Linked DNA regions of Homo sapiens: region 1 is linked to region 2. The links are contacts of gene promoters, found by promoter capture Hi-C in blood cells and fetal thymus (Javierre and others, 2016). All regions are on one chromosome and are shown on one strand. The core of a region is centred on a gene start or on the middle of the fragment in contact, and the rest is flanking DNA. Distances in the headings are between cores, read along the strand shown. Region 1 holds the start of CREBBP (CREB binding lysine acetyltransferase). Region 2 holds the start of SEC14L5 (SEC14 like lipid binding 5).

Region 1 (6,133 bases), core at 1,172-3,671, 1.1 Mb after region 2:
TTGTCCCGTTTGAAGAGTGGCCTGGAGCCACCTCAGGCTGGGGCCCACCCTTTTCAGTGGCCTGAAGGCCTCTAGGACTCAGAGCACCTGACACAGCTCATCACTCATTCAGTTTTACAAACCTACTTCTTCTTGCAGAGCACTGTTTCTGTGACTAAGACACCATCTTTGCCCCGAAGGAGCTCACAGACCCTTGGTGAGACGGACACCCAGAGCATTCAGATACAGGGTGTGGCCTGCCCTGTGCCACTGATACACTTCTTGCCATTCCTGTGCAAACTGACTTCTTGAATACTTCCATTTATGGCTTCCAGGGTGTGCTATTTTAACTCCTTGAATATATGGGGATCTCTTTATGTTTGGCCAAGGGGATTAGCACAGTCTCAATGCCCTTGGGATTCTCAAGAGCTATTTGATGCATAAGTAAAAACATGAACTAATTCGGGGGCAGTGGAGGCGGGGAAGATGGGGCAGGATGTGTTATGTGTTCTCTCACAGAGCCCAGAAGTGATATGGGAGCCGAGGAGTGGGCTAGGAGGGCTTCCTGGAGTAGGTGACATTTGAACTGGGTTCTGGAGGATGAGTTAGAATTTGCCAGGCATGTCTTCTCAGCACAGGGACCAGCATTTGAAAAAAAAAAAAAAAAAGCCTGAATGATGTGAACTGCCTACTGGCCAAGTGGGTGTAGGATGATGATGGTGAAGTGAGCCATGTAAAGTAGAAGAGACAGATTCAAGAGCGGTATCACGGCCCAAGATTTTGAGCAGTACAGGTAAACAGAGAAAAGCAGAACGATCACTCAATCTTGACACTCAAGGACAGTCACCATATGTACATACACCTATGTTTTTAAGAGAATTCATACGTGTTCTTTTTTAAAGAAAGACTATGTAGTGTTTTCTTTTTCTATGTCTGGGATTTTGTTTTGTTTTGTTTTGTTTTTGAGACGGAGTTTCACTCTTGTCGCCCAGGATGGAGTGCAATGGCGAGATCCCGGCTTACTGGCCTCCCCAGTTCAAGTGATTCTCGCATCTCAGCCTCCCGAGTAGCTGGGATTACAGGCGCACGCCGCCACGCCCAGCTAATGTTTGTATTTTTGGTAGAGATGGGGTTTCACCATGTTGGCCAGGCTGGTCTTGAACTCCTGACCTCAGGTGATCTGCCACCGCGCCTGGCCAGGGAGTTGTTTTAAACAGATTTTCTCCCTCTCTTTTCGGGATGTTAACTCTGGTGCTGCGTGGGGAGCAACGTGGAGAGCAAAGAACACTTAAGTGAGTAGCTGCCACCATAGCCACCGGGACAGTGCGGGAGGAGCAGTCTCCCAGGTAAAGACCGTGGGTAGAGGGGCGCGTGGCGGGTGAGAGGGAGGAGTCCGCGCTGACTCACGGGTTTCTGGCTTAGGAAACAGTGGAGCTGCTGATACCTTTATGAGGAAGCCGGGCAAGTTTGGAGGGGCAGATAACTAACTGGGATGGGAACACCTCGGGTATTCGTAGAAGTGTCCCGCGGGCTGTGGTCTCGCGTGGGGGACTCCCCAGGCCCGCACCCCTGTCTGGGGCACCTGCGAGGCGCCAGGCAAGTTGCCTGGGGCGGGGAGTGCGGCCTGAGCGTCCAGGCTTAAGCCCCGATGCGCGGGCCCTTCTCCGCCCAGGCCGGCCCTCGCCACCCCGCTCTCACAGGTGAGGGTGTCTGCCCTGCCGCCTTGGGATGCGAACAGGCGTGAGGCCCCCTCACTCCCTAGTGTCACGAGGTAGGGCGGGACCCGAATCCCGGCCCTGCCACTTCCTGCCTCGACCACTTTGGAGCAGTTGCTCGCCCCCCGCCTCAGTTTCCCCATCCGCCCACCTCGTCGGCAGGACCCAAGGGCGGTCTGTAACCTGCAGAGGCCATTCCACTTCCCTGGCCGGCGGCGAAGGCTAGTGGCGCGGCCTGGGCTGGGGTCGCCCCGACCGTTCCCGACCGACGCCACCTAGGAGGGTCTGGGGAAGGGGACGCGAGGAGCTGGGAACACGCAGCGCCGCCCCAGCGGGACGGGCGGGCCCGGGCTGGCGTCGAATCCGCGCCCGAGAGCCCAGCCCGCGGCCAGGCCGCCGCTCCCGGAGCCCGCTGGGGCCCGGAGCCCCGGCCCTCTACGCCTGGTCGCCATCAGAACAAAAGCTGTGGCTCAGCCCGGAGCCCAGGCGCCCCGCAGGCCTGGCCCGCGCCGGGCCGCCAGCTTCCCTACGCTTGGCGGCCGCGCCTTCAGCCCTTCGGCCCGAGCACGCTCGGCTCTTTCCGCCACGGCCGGCGCAGGTGGAGGGGGCGGGGCGGGGGCCGTGCGTGGTGACGCCGCGGGGGGGTGACGCACCGGCGTGCCCCGCCCCCACCCCCTCCCCGTTCAGGCTCTGGAAAGAGAAGAAAAAAAACTTTCTTTTTTTTTTAATTGAGGAATCAACAGCCGCCATCTTGTCGCGGACCCGACCGGGGCTTCGAGCGCGATCTACTCGGCCCCGCCGGTCCCGGGCCCCACAACCGCCCGCGCACCCCGCTCCGCCCGGCCGGCCCGCTCCGCCCGGCCCTCGGCGCCCGCCCCGGCGGCCCCGCTCGCCTCTCGGCTCGGCCTCCCGGAGCCCGGCGGCGGCGGCGGCGGCAGCGGCGGCGGCGGCGGCGGAACGGGGGGTGGGGGGGCCGCGGCGGCGGCGGCGACCCCGCTCGGCGCATTGTTTTTCCTCACGGCGGCGGCGGCGGCGGGCCGCGGGCCGGGAGCGGAGCCCGGAGCCCCCTCGTCGTCGGGCCGCGAGCGAATTCATTAAGTGGGGCGCGGGGGGGGAGCGAGGCGGCGGCGGCGGCGGCACCATGTTCTCGGGGACTGCCTGAGCCGCCCGGCCGGGCGCCGTCGCTGCCAGCCGGGCCCGGGGGGGCGGCCGGGCCGCCGGGGCGCCCCCACCGCGGAGTGTCGCGCTCGGGAGGCGGGCAGGGGATGAGGGGGCCGCGGCCGGCGGCGGCGGCGGCGGCCGGGGGCGGGCGGTGAGCGCTGCGGGGCGCTGTTGCTGTGGCTGAGATTTGGCCGCCGCCTCCCCCACCCGGCCTGCGCCCTCCCTCTCCCTCGGCGCCCGCCCGCCCGCTCGCGGCCCGCGCTCGCTCCTCTCCCTCGCAGCCGGCAGGGCCCCCGACCCCCGTCCGGGCCCTCGCCGGCCCGGCCGCCCGTGCCCGGGGCTGTTTTCGCGAGCAGGTGAAAATGGCTGAGAACTTGCTGGACGGACCGCCCAACCCCAAAAGAGCCAAACTCAGCTCGCCCGGTTTCTCGGCGAATGACAGCACAGGTGAGGAGGGGGTCCGGGGCGGCGGGGGCCCGGGGCGCGCTGTCACCCCCACCTGAAAGAGAGCGTCCGGGGGTCGTGGTCGCGGATACCGATCGAGCCGGGAGCTCGGAGCAGGCCCCGCAGCCCGTTCCCCTCGCCCCGCGCGGGAGGGTGGAAGTTCGTCGCAGGACTGTCACTGGGCCCGAGTTGGTCAGCACACGCCCGGTGCACTCGGCCTCCCCGCACCCGATCAGCCCTCCTCGCGGGGACCCTAGTGGCACTCCAGGAGGGAAGAAGTAAAGTGCAGCGTGTGGGTTTGTTTGGTAATGTCCTACGCATCCATCCGCGGCCGTGTCCACACGCGTGGCCGTCCAGAGGAATGACAGCGGAGGGTACCTTTGATGCTTAGAGAAAGCAAGATCGCGGCCAAAGGTAGGGCAGTGTGTTTTCTGGATTGGCGACACATTGACCAGGCTGCATTCAGAGGACACTCACAGCAGCCGCCAGCTTGCGAGTTAGAACCGAAGTTTCTTGGAATGAGTGAGTTCCTTGGAAAGATGCTTAGTGCTTATTTTCAAAACTCCTTGTTTTGTGTGTGTGTGTGTGTGTGTGTGTGTGCGCGCGTGTGTGTTTTTAGTCAACTAGTCATTCCATTTTTCAAAACCCAAACTTCGTTAGCAAGATGTCATGAAAGTTGCTGTGGTGTGTTTCATTTCCATGTATAACTTCAAAAGAAAGTTAAACAGCAGGTTTAAGTTCATTTGGGCTGCAATCTCCATTTGAGTTTGTGTTGCTTTCACAGTGTAGATGTACAAAGAATTAAGGAATGTAGGAATTCCAATTTTTCAAAAAAATGGAGCAGGATACTGAATAAATCATCTTTTTGTTTGTTTCCTTTCATTAAACGGCTTCCCTGGAAACTTTCTTAAGTTATCATAGCTGCTTAAGAGAAGTATTTAGTTTTCTATTAATTCAGTAATTCTGGGTCCCACTGCGCTGGTTCATGGTAACATGAACTAGTTGTATTTCCTCTTTTAGAGCTCTCTCCTTTGCCGCAAAAACTTGTGTGCCGCTGCGAACAATTCCATCTCCAGCGCAGCTTGCATTTCTCCAGTAGTCTTGCAGTGGTAGCATCTGAAAATCAGTTTCTAATGAATGAGTCCAAATTGAATTACATCGCTGCCTTCAGATTTGCACTAGACACAGCTGTTCAACTTGTGGAAATAGTTCTGTGACCGACCACTAGCATATTAAAAAAAACTGCTATTGCTGTTGAAACAAAACCTGAATTTTGTGGCTTAAGTTTGAATACAATTCCTGGAATCAAGTTATGATAAGCGACGTTTAATATTAATGTAGAAGTGAAAAGCGATTTTTAAAGATCAATCATAAGGAGATTCTTATCTAGTTAAAATTTGTTAAACAGTGGGGAGGAGTAAATGATGCTCATGGTATATAAAAATCACTAATGCTTTTCTTTTTAGCTGATAAAAGTTGAGTTTGACGTTAATCTTATAAAATGAACTTATTGAAGTGAGAAATTTGGAAACAGTAGTTTAAATGCCGTTGTACTGCAAAACAGATCTCCGTTGCTTCATTAATCTTGCTGTGTTTGAGTAGTCTTCAGTTCTGTGAGACGTAGGTCATACGTGGCGAGTTCAGCTTTGAAGCTTGTCTTCTGAAACTGGTAACCTGGATGGCTTTGTAGCTTTGCTGTTGTTGAATGAATTTGTTGTAGATTTTGTCTTAAAAAGGGGGACAATTAGTAACACAAGACTTAACAAAAAGGCATGTCCTTATATGTACATCCAGCTGTTTCCAAGATGGAGCCCAAAGGTTAGCTTTTTCCATAGTAGTGTCCATTATTGGATGATCAGATGCTTAATAAGTTGATCAGAAAGGATTTTCCACACTTAACCACCTTTTCCCCCTTCCTTTACAATTTTGATCCTTGTAAGGCACAGGGGCTCTTTCGTGGGACCAAAAGTCAGCTTTAAATGGCTCCGATTTAATCCAAAGTAGAAAGTCAACATCATACTTAAGTTGGGTCATGTGTTACACATTCATCACCATCACACTATTGTGAAAGGGTCTGTTAGTATGGGGGACCAAGGAAGGGCTCATTATCAAGCACATTAAACAAGGGGCTGCTGGGCGCCATGGCTCATGCCTGTAATCCCAGCACTTTGGGAGGCGGAGGCTGGTGGATCAACTTCAGGTCAGGAGTTCAAGACCAGCCTGGCCAACATGGGGAAACCCCATCTGTACTCAAAATACAAAAACATAGCCAGGCATGGTGACATGCACCTGTAATTCCAGCTACTTGAGAGGCTGAGGCATGACAATTGCTTGAACTCGGGAGGCAGAGGTTGCAGTGAGCCAAGATCGCGCCACTGCACTCCAGCCTGGGTAATGGAGTGAGACGCTGTCTCCAAAAGAAACGAGGGACACTTTGTCTGTTGTAACTGCTCCACTAAGAAATTGAGTAATGAGATGGACAGAGATCTTAGGGATGTATTTTAAACAAATAAATGGCTTGAGTTTTTACATTAAATACATTCAAAAACTGAAGGCATTTGGTTAGGTGGGACAGACCTGAGAATAACATTCTTGAGGAACTCAATCTTATTTTAGTGACGGGATGTGTCTCTGAGGCTCCCAGGGGAAAATTGGGCCTAGTGGAGCAGGGTGTGTGCCCGGTGCATGTGATCAAATTTGAGGGAGGGGACCTCTGTCTAGGAGCTGAGGGGTTGAAAGGAGGAGGAGCCCTTGGCAGCCTGAGAAACAGGATCTACTTGGACTGCAGTGCATGTCTGTAGAGACTGGCCTGTGGGGCCACCAGTGTCACTTAG
Region 2 (5,883 bases), core at 3,207-5,706:
AGATAGAATGACAGGGTTGTGGCAGTCCCTCTGGAAAATACAAATGACTTAAATTAACGCAGGTACAGATAAGGAAGTTTTTTTTTTTTTTTTTTTTTTGAGACAGAGTTTCACTCTTCCCCCAGGCTGGAGTGCAATGGCACGATCTCGGCTCCCTGCAACCTCCGCCTCCCGGGTTTAAGCGATTCTCCTCTCTCAGCCTCCCGAATAGCTGGGATTACAGGTGCTTGCCACCATACCCAGCTAATTCTTGTATTTTTAGTAGAGACAAGGTTTTACCATGTTGGCCAAGCTCGTCTCGAACTCCTGACCTGAGGTGGTCCGCCCGCCTTAGCCTCCCAAAGTGTTGGGATTACAGGCATGATCCACCATACCTGGCCACAGATAATATAGATTTGAAAGCCTTTTTTTCACTCTACCCACAGGTGTCAGTACCTAGAGACTCAACAGCGAAGGGAGTAAATGGAGCCGTGCCTTCATTTGTGGAACCTGAAGCTTACAAAATATGTTTAACATACCCAATACAGGCAATGCGAGTACATTACTAGTGCTATTCATATAGTTTTTCTGTTGTTTTTGTTTTCTTTTCTTTTTTTCTTTTTCTTTTTTTTTTTTTTTTTGAGACAGAGTCTCGCTCTGTTGCCCAGGCTCGAGTGCAGGACTGTGTGTCCAGTCCTGTCTTATTCTATGAATAAGCACCCAGCCCCCATTTTCTTGATTTGTGAAATGGGGATGACTGTATGCCTATATGCGCCTCATAAGGTTGTCATGAAGATGAAAAGTGATTGTGTGTGTGTGTGTCTGTTTGCCTCGCACAGGGCCCAGTCCTACCAAGTGACAATAAGTGGTCGATAAACATAAATAATCACCCTTAGTTTAAGGCTCTGGCAGCTCACATGTTCTAAGACCCAAGCACTTGTTCATTCATTCATAAGAAGAGAGAAACTGTCCCCACCCTTCTCTGACAGTCCAAGGACCCATGGTTCTCTGCCATGAATCTGAGACACATTAACTATAGGATGGAAAACCATCTACTGCATGTGCTTAATAAATTCCAACTTAATTTGTCACGTTTAGGGTTCTGAAAATATTTACAATCATTGCACTTGAAAATAAGCCATGCCCATGAATATAGCACTTAAGGCTATATGAATAGGGGCCGGATGCAGTGAGTCACCCCTGTAATCCCAGCACTTTGGGAGGCCGAGGCTAGTGGATCACTTGAGGTCAGCAGTTCGAGACCAGCGTGGCCAACGTGATGAAACCCCGTCTATACTGAAAATACAAAAATTACCTGGGCATGGTGGTGTGCATCTGTAATCTCAGCTACTCAGGGGGCTGAGGCACGAGAATGGCTTGAACCTGGGAGGCAGAGGTTGCAGTGAGCCAAGATGGCACCACTGCACTCCAGTCTGGGCAACAGAGTGAGACTCAGTCTGGAAAAAGTAAAAGAAAATGGGGCTCAGAAAAGTTCAGCAACTTTGTTGTTGTTGTTGTTGCTGTTGTTGTTGTTGAGACGGAGTCTCGCTCTGTCACCCATGCTGGAGTGTTGCGGCGCAATCTCGGCTCTCTGCAACGTCTGCCTCCTGGGTTCAAGAGATTCTCCTGCTTCAGCCTCCCGAGTAGATGGGACTACAGGTGCGCGCCACCACGCCCGGCTAATTTTTCTTGTATTTTTAGTTGAGTTGGGGTTTCACCGTGTTACACGGGATTGTCTTGATCTCCTGACCTTGTGATCCACCCACCTCGGCCTCCCAAAGCGCTGGGATTACAGGTGTGAGCCACTGCACCCGGCTTAAGTTCAGCAACTTTCTAAAAACATACAACCAGAGCATGGCAGAGCACAGCAGAACCCTAAAGCATCTGAATTCACGTCCCTGGATCTCTTCACCATCCCCTGGTGTTCCACTCCCATTACGCAGAAGCAAAGTCACTCAGGCACTTGCAAAAACAGTAACGATCATAGCTGGATCTCAGTGAGCATTTGATCTGCGTCAGCCCCGTACCAGGAGCTTTATACACATTGACTCATTTAATCCACAGCATGACACCAGGATTTGGAAGCCAGGAGATTCCCATTGGTGATGGGGAGTGGAGGCTCATGGAGGTGAAGTGACTTGCCCCACAGTCACTCAGCTCGTCAATTGGGGAGCTAGAATATGACCCTAAGCCAGTTCCTGCCTCTTTGCTGTCCTAGAACCATCTGCCTGTAACAGCACAAGGTATGTGGATGATTTTGGTGATGCTTTTAAATCCTCTGTGTGACAATAAACATATACGCATGTAGATTCATAGAATAAGACAGGACTGGACACACAGGCACACACAGCCACCAAGAGATATGAAAGTCCCTGGATAGAAGGCTGGGGTTAAGCAGTCAGTGCTGGGGTGGGACAGATGGGGGTGGATGCTAATGTTTCTTACACTTTCAATACATTAATTTACAAGACTTCGGTGTAATAACAGCGACAGCATATTTTGTGAGCTCCTACTGTGTGCCCGGCACACAGCAAGGAGCACCAAGAACTATCTCATTTACTCCTCCCCGCAACCTTGTAGCATTGTCCCCATGTTACTGAGCAGGGAAGTGAAGTGCTCAGAGGCAGAGGGATGCAGCCAAGAAGGAATTCCACATCCACCTATGTCCAGCTTCTGCCCCCAGGGTGAAAAGACCAGTGATCCTGGGGGCCAAGGATCTGGCAGCCAATTCTAGGCCTCCAACTGACTTGCTGCACAACACAGAGTACATCACAAAGCAAACCTACCCACTCATTCTCTCTCTCGTCCCAGTGTCAGCTTCCTTAAAGGGGAGGGAAGGGGGTCTGTGAGCAGAAGGAGGGCTCTGTGGTCAAATGTGAGGTTCTAGAGTCTCCTTTGTGGGGATCTCAGCCCCGACTCCACCTCTGCGTAGATACAGAACTTAGTGTCATCCCTTCACCTGTCAAAGCCTCAGTTTCATGGAGGTTACATGGGAAAATAACAGCTATCGGGAATTGGAAGAAACATCATCTGTTAAGACAGTGCTGTAAACATTCAATAAACAGCTGTTGTCATTATCACCACCATTCCATTTATCACTGTGATATGCCATTATATGAAATGACAGCAGTGGCTTGGCCCCTGATACCTTTGTTTTCTATCAGGAGAGTCTAAAGTAAGGGAGCAGGTCAGCTTCAACAAGGAGAAGGAAGAAAGACTTTGTGTTTTGGTCACTGGGCCGAGGATAGGATGGTTGGACAGAGAGGTCACTGGATAGAAGTTAAACCCACCAGGTCAGCTGAGTAACTCACTAATTCCTTCTGATCTGGGAGTCTAAGGAGCTCCGTCTTCCTACCGCCATAGCTGATCTCAAGCCCCTCCAACTGTCACATGGGGGCCCAAGAATCAGGAGTCACTCACCGCCATGACCAGCTCAAACGGGTACTTGTAGACTCGGACAGGAGACTGGTATCTTTGCACCATGTTCACGCTGGAGCACCAATGGAGGTCACCAGGCAGGGGTGTGCACAGAGCCTGGGGCGAGGAGTGACTGGTGAGGTTGCAGCTCCCACCTCGGGAAGCAGGGACACCACCCACCAAGTGTAAGGGGCAGCCCCTGGCCCCACCCACACAGCTCCCCAGCCTTCAAATTGAGAAGGCTGATATTCCCCCCAAATTACTCCAGGCCAAGCCCCAACAGCTTCCCTGTCATTAGCCATGGCCCCAGACCACGCTCAGCCTTCCAAGAGCAGTCAGCACCCCCAAACTTTCCTCTACCCCCACCCCTTCACACTGAGGGCCCCCAGAAGCCTTACGGCCACCCACACAGACACACACACATTTGCAATTCTTACACTCCCACGGTTCTATTCACGCATGCACCCCGCAGCTTGCCACAGACTTGCTGGCCTACAGCCCACCCCCGAGTCTCCTTGCACCTGCCCTCCCATTTTCCTCCCAGACACCCTGACATACACACACAGCCTTCACCACATTTCACAGGCACTGTCTCTATCACACACATGTACACACGCAGGTTTCCCTCCCACACGGGACTGCTTTTGCACACGCCTCCAACTTTGCACACACACCCTGAAACACGCACCTGCCCAGCTCCACGCACGCAATTCCCCTGGTGTGCACAGACGTGCACACACGCACACACACCCGTGCGCACATGCACACACACGTACACACACGTAGAGGCAATCGCACACGCATGCACACACAGGTCCCCGCAGCTTTGCTCACCCTCGCCCTCGGGAGCCTTTGGGAATGCAGCCTAGGGGAAGTGCCCTGGAAGCCCGCCTGGCTCGGGAGCTGAGCGCTTACCCGCGCCCGCCTGGCCTGGAGCGCAGTACCTGAGGCGGGGCCCGATCGCGGATCTCTAGCCTGGTGTGTCCCGCCTTGAACACCCTGCGGCCAGGACAGCTGTGGAAGGCCGGAGGGGCGGGAGCGAAACCTGCCGGGCCGAGAGAGCTCCAGGACCCGGGACAGCGGAGATCCTGGCCTGGCCCCGCCCCTGACCTGGTCCCGCCCACGTCCCCGGCCATGGCCCCGCCCAGGTTGGCCCTGCCCCCTAACTGGTCCCGCCCCACTCTGGCCCCGCCCCAGGCGAACTCCCCCTGGTTCTAGCCCCGCCCCTTATTTTTAGATGTCGCTTGTTTGACCACGCCCTCAGCCCAGTCCTTTCTCTAGATTGGTCACACCTCAGGAAGTCCCCTCCCCCTTCACTGGCCCCGCCCTCCAAGGCCCTCAGCCTCGGGGAATGGTAGGCCACAGGACGACCCCGCCCTAATCTAGCTCTGCCTCCAAGCAGACCCTGAGTCCGGGCCGACCCGCCCCGGACCCTGCGTCTGGCCGACAGTACTGTTTACATTTGTAGATAAGCAGAATTTACGCTTTTCTTGCTCAGATTAACCTCGCCCTCGTCCCGCTGCACTTGGGTCTGACTGGCTCCTCCACCTGTCCCCGCCCCACGGCCCGCGCATGCACCTTCGCCCACTCTGCACACCTTCACAGAGCGCCTGCTGGGGGTCAGCCCTGTCCAGGCGCTGGAGAGCCGCCGGTGAGCCACACGCACGAATCCCTGCCCTCGTGGAGTTTATACTACGGTGGGGAGACAGACACTCAATAAATAAGGCAAATATATGATGTGTGAGGTAGTGAAAAACTCTAACGAGAGAAAAATAAGCAGGAAAGGGGCTCAAGGAGCCAGCGGAGAGAAAGGACAATTTAAAACAGGTAAGAGGCCGGGCGCCATGTCTCACGCCTGTAATCCAAACACTTTAGGAGGCGGAAGCGGGAGGACCGCTTGAACCCAGGAGTTGGAGACCACCCTGGGTAACATAGCAAGAACCTATCTCTACAAAAAAATTTTTTTTTAGTTTAGGCAGGGCGCGGTGGCTCACGCCTGTAATCCCAGCACACTGAGAGGCCAAGGCAGGCAGATCAGCTGAGGTCAGGAGTTCGAGAACAGCATGGCCAATATGAGGAAACCCCGTCTCTACTAAAATACAAAATTAGCCGGGCATGGTGGCGTATACCTGTAATCTCAGCTACTCGGGAGGCTGAGGCAGGAGAATCGCTTGAATCAAGGAGGCGGAGGTTGCAGTGAGCCGAGACTGCGCCACTGCACTCCAGCCTGGGCAAGAAGAACAAAGCTCCGTCGCAAAAAAAAAAAAAAAAAATTAGCCAGGCGTGTTGGCACGTGCCTGTGGTCCCAGCTACTCAAGAGGCTGAGGCAGGAGGATCCCTTGAGCCCAGAAGTTCAAAGCTGCAGTGAGCTGTTACCTGGCCACTGCACTCCAGCCTGGGCAACAAAGCAAGACTCGGTCTCAAAATAAATAAGTAAATAAATAAATAAAACAGGGAGTAAGGGGGCCTCCCTTGGGAGAGTGACAT

Evidence for each region. The method cuts DNA at HindIII sites, captures the fragments that hold promoters and counts their contacts. A CHiCAGO score of 5 or more calls a contact.
Region 1: a contact is called between the fragment with the promoter of CREBBP here and the fragment with the promoter of SEC14L5 in region 2, in 3 of 17 cell types (naive B cells, total CD4 T cells and naive CD8 T cells). The highest score is 8.8, in naive B cells.

What each region holds. Positions count from the first base shown.
Region 1 is chr16:3,877,001-3,883,133 of GRCh38, reverse strand. CREBBP (CREB binding lysine acetyltransferase) reads left to right here and starts at 2,421. Exons shown (of 31, transcript NM_004380.3): 1 at 2,421-3,302. The coding sequence starts at 3,218. RefSeq lists silencers at 1,946-2,495, 2,516-2,565, 2,903-3,212, 3,253-3,302, 3,383-3,432 and an enhancer at 2,166-2,742. The HindIII fragment of the contact is 11,013 bases long and covers 1-4,953 here.
Region 2 is chr16:4,956,903-4,962,785 of GRCh38, reverse strand. It overlaps SEC14L5 (SEC14 like lipid binding 5), which reads right to left and starts at 4,456. Exons shown (of 16, transcript NM_014692.2): 1 at 4,341-4,456; 2 at 3,400-3,513. The coding sequence starts at 3,462. RefSeq lists an enhancer at 3,929-4,464 and silencers at 4,268-4,563, 4,362-4,571. The HindIII fragment of the contact is 6,723 bases long and covers 498-5,883 here.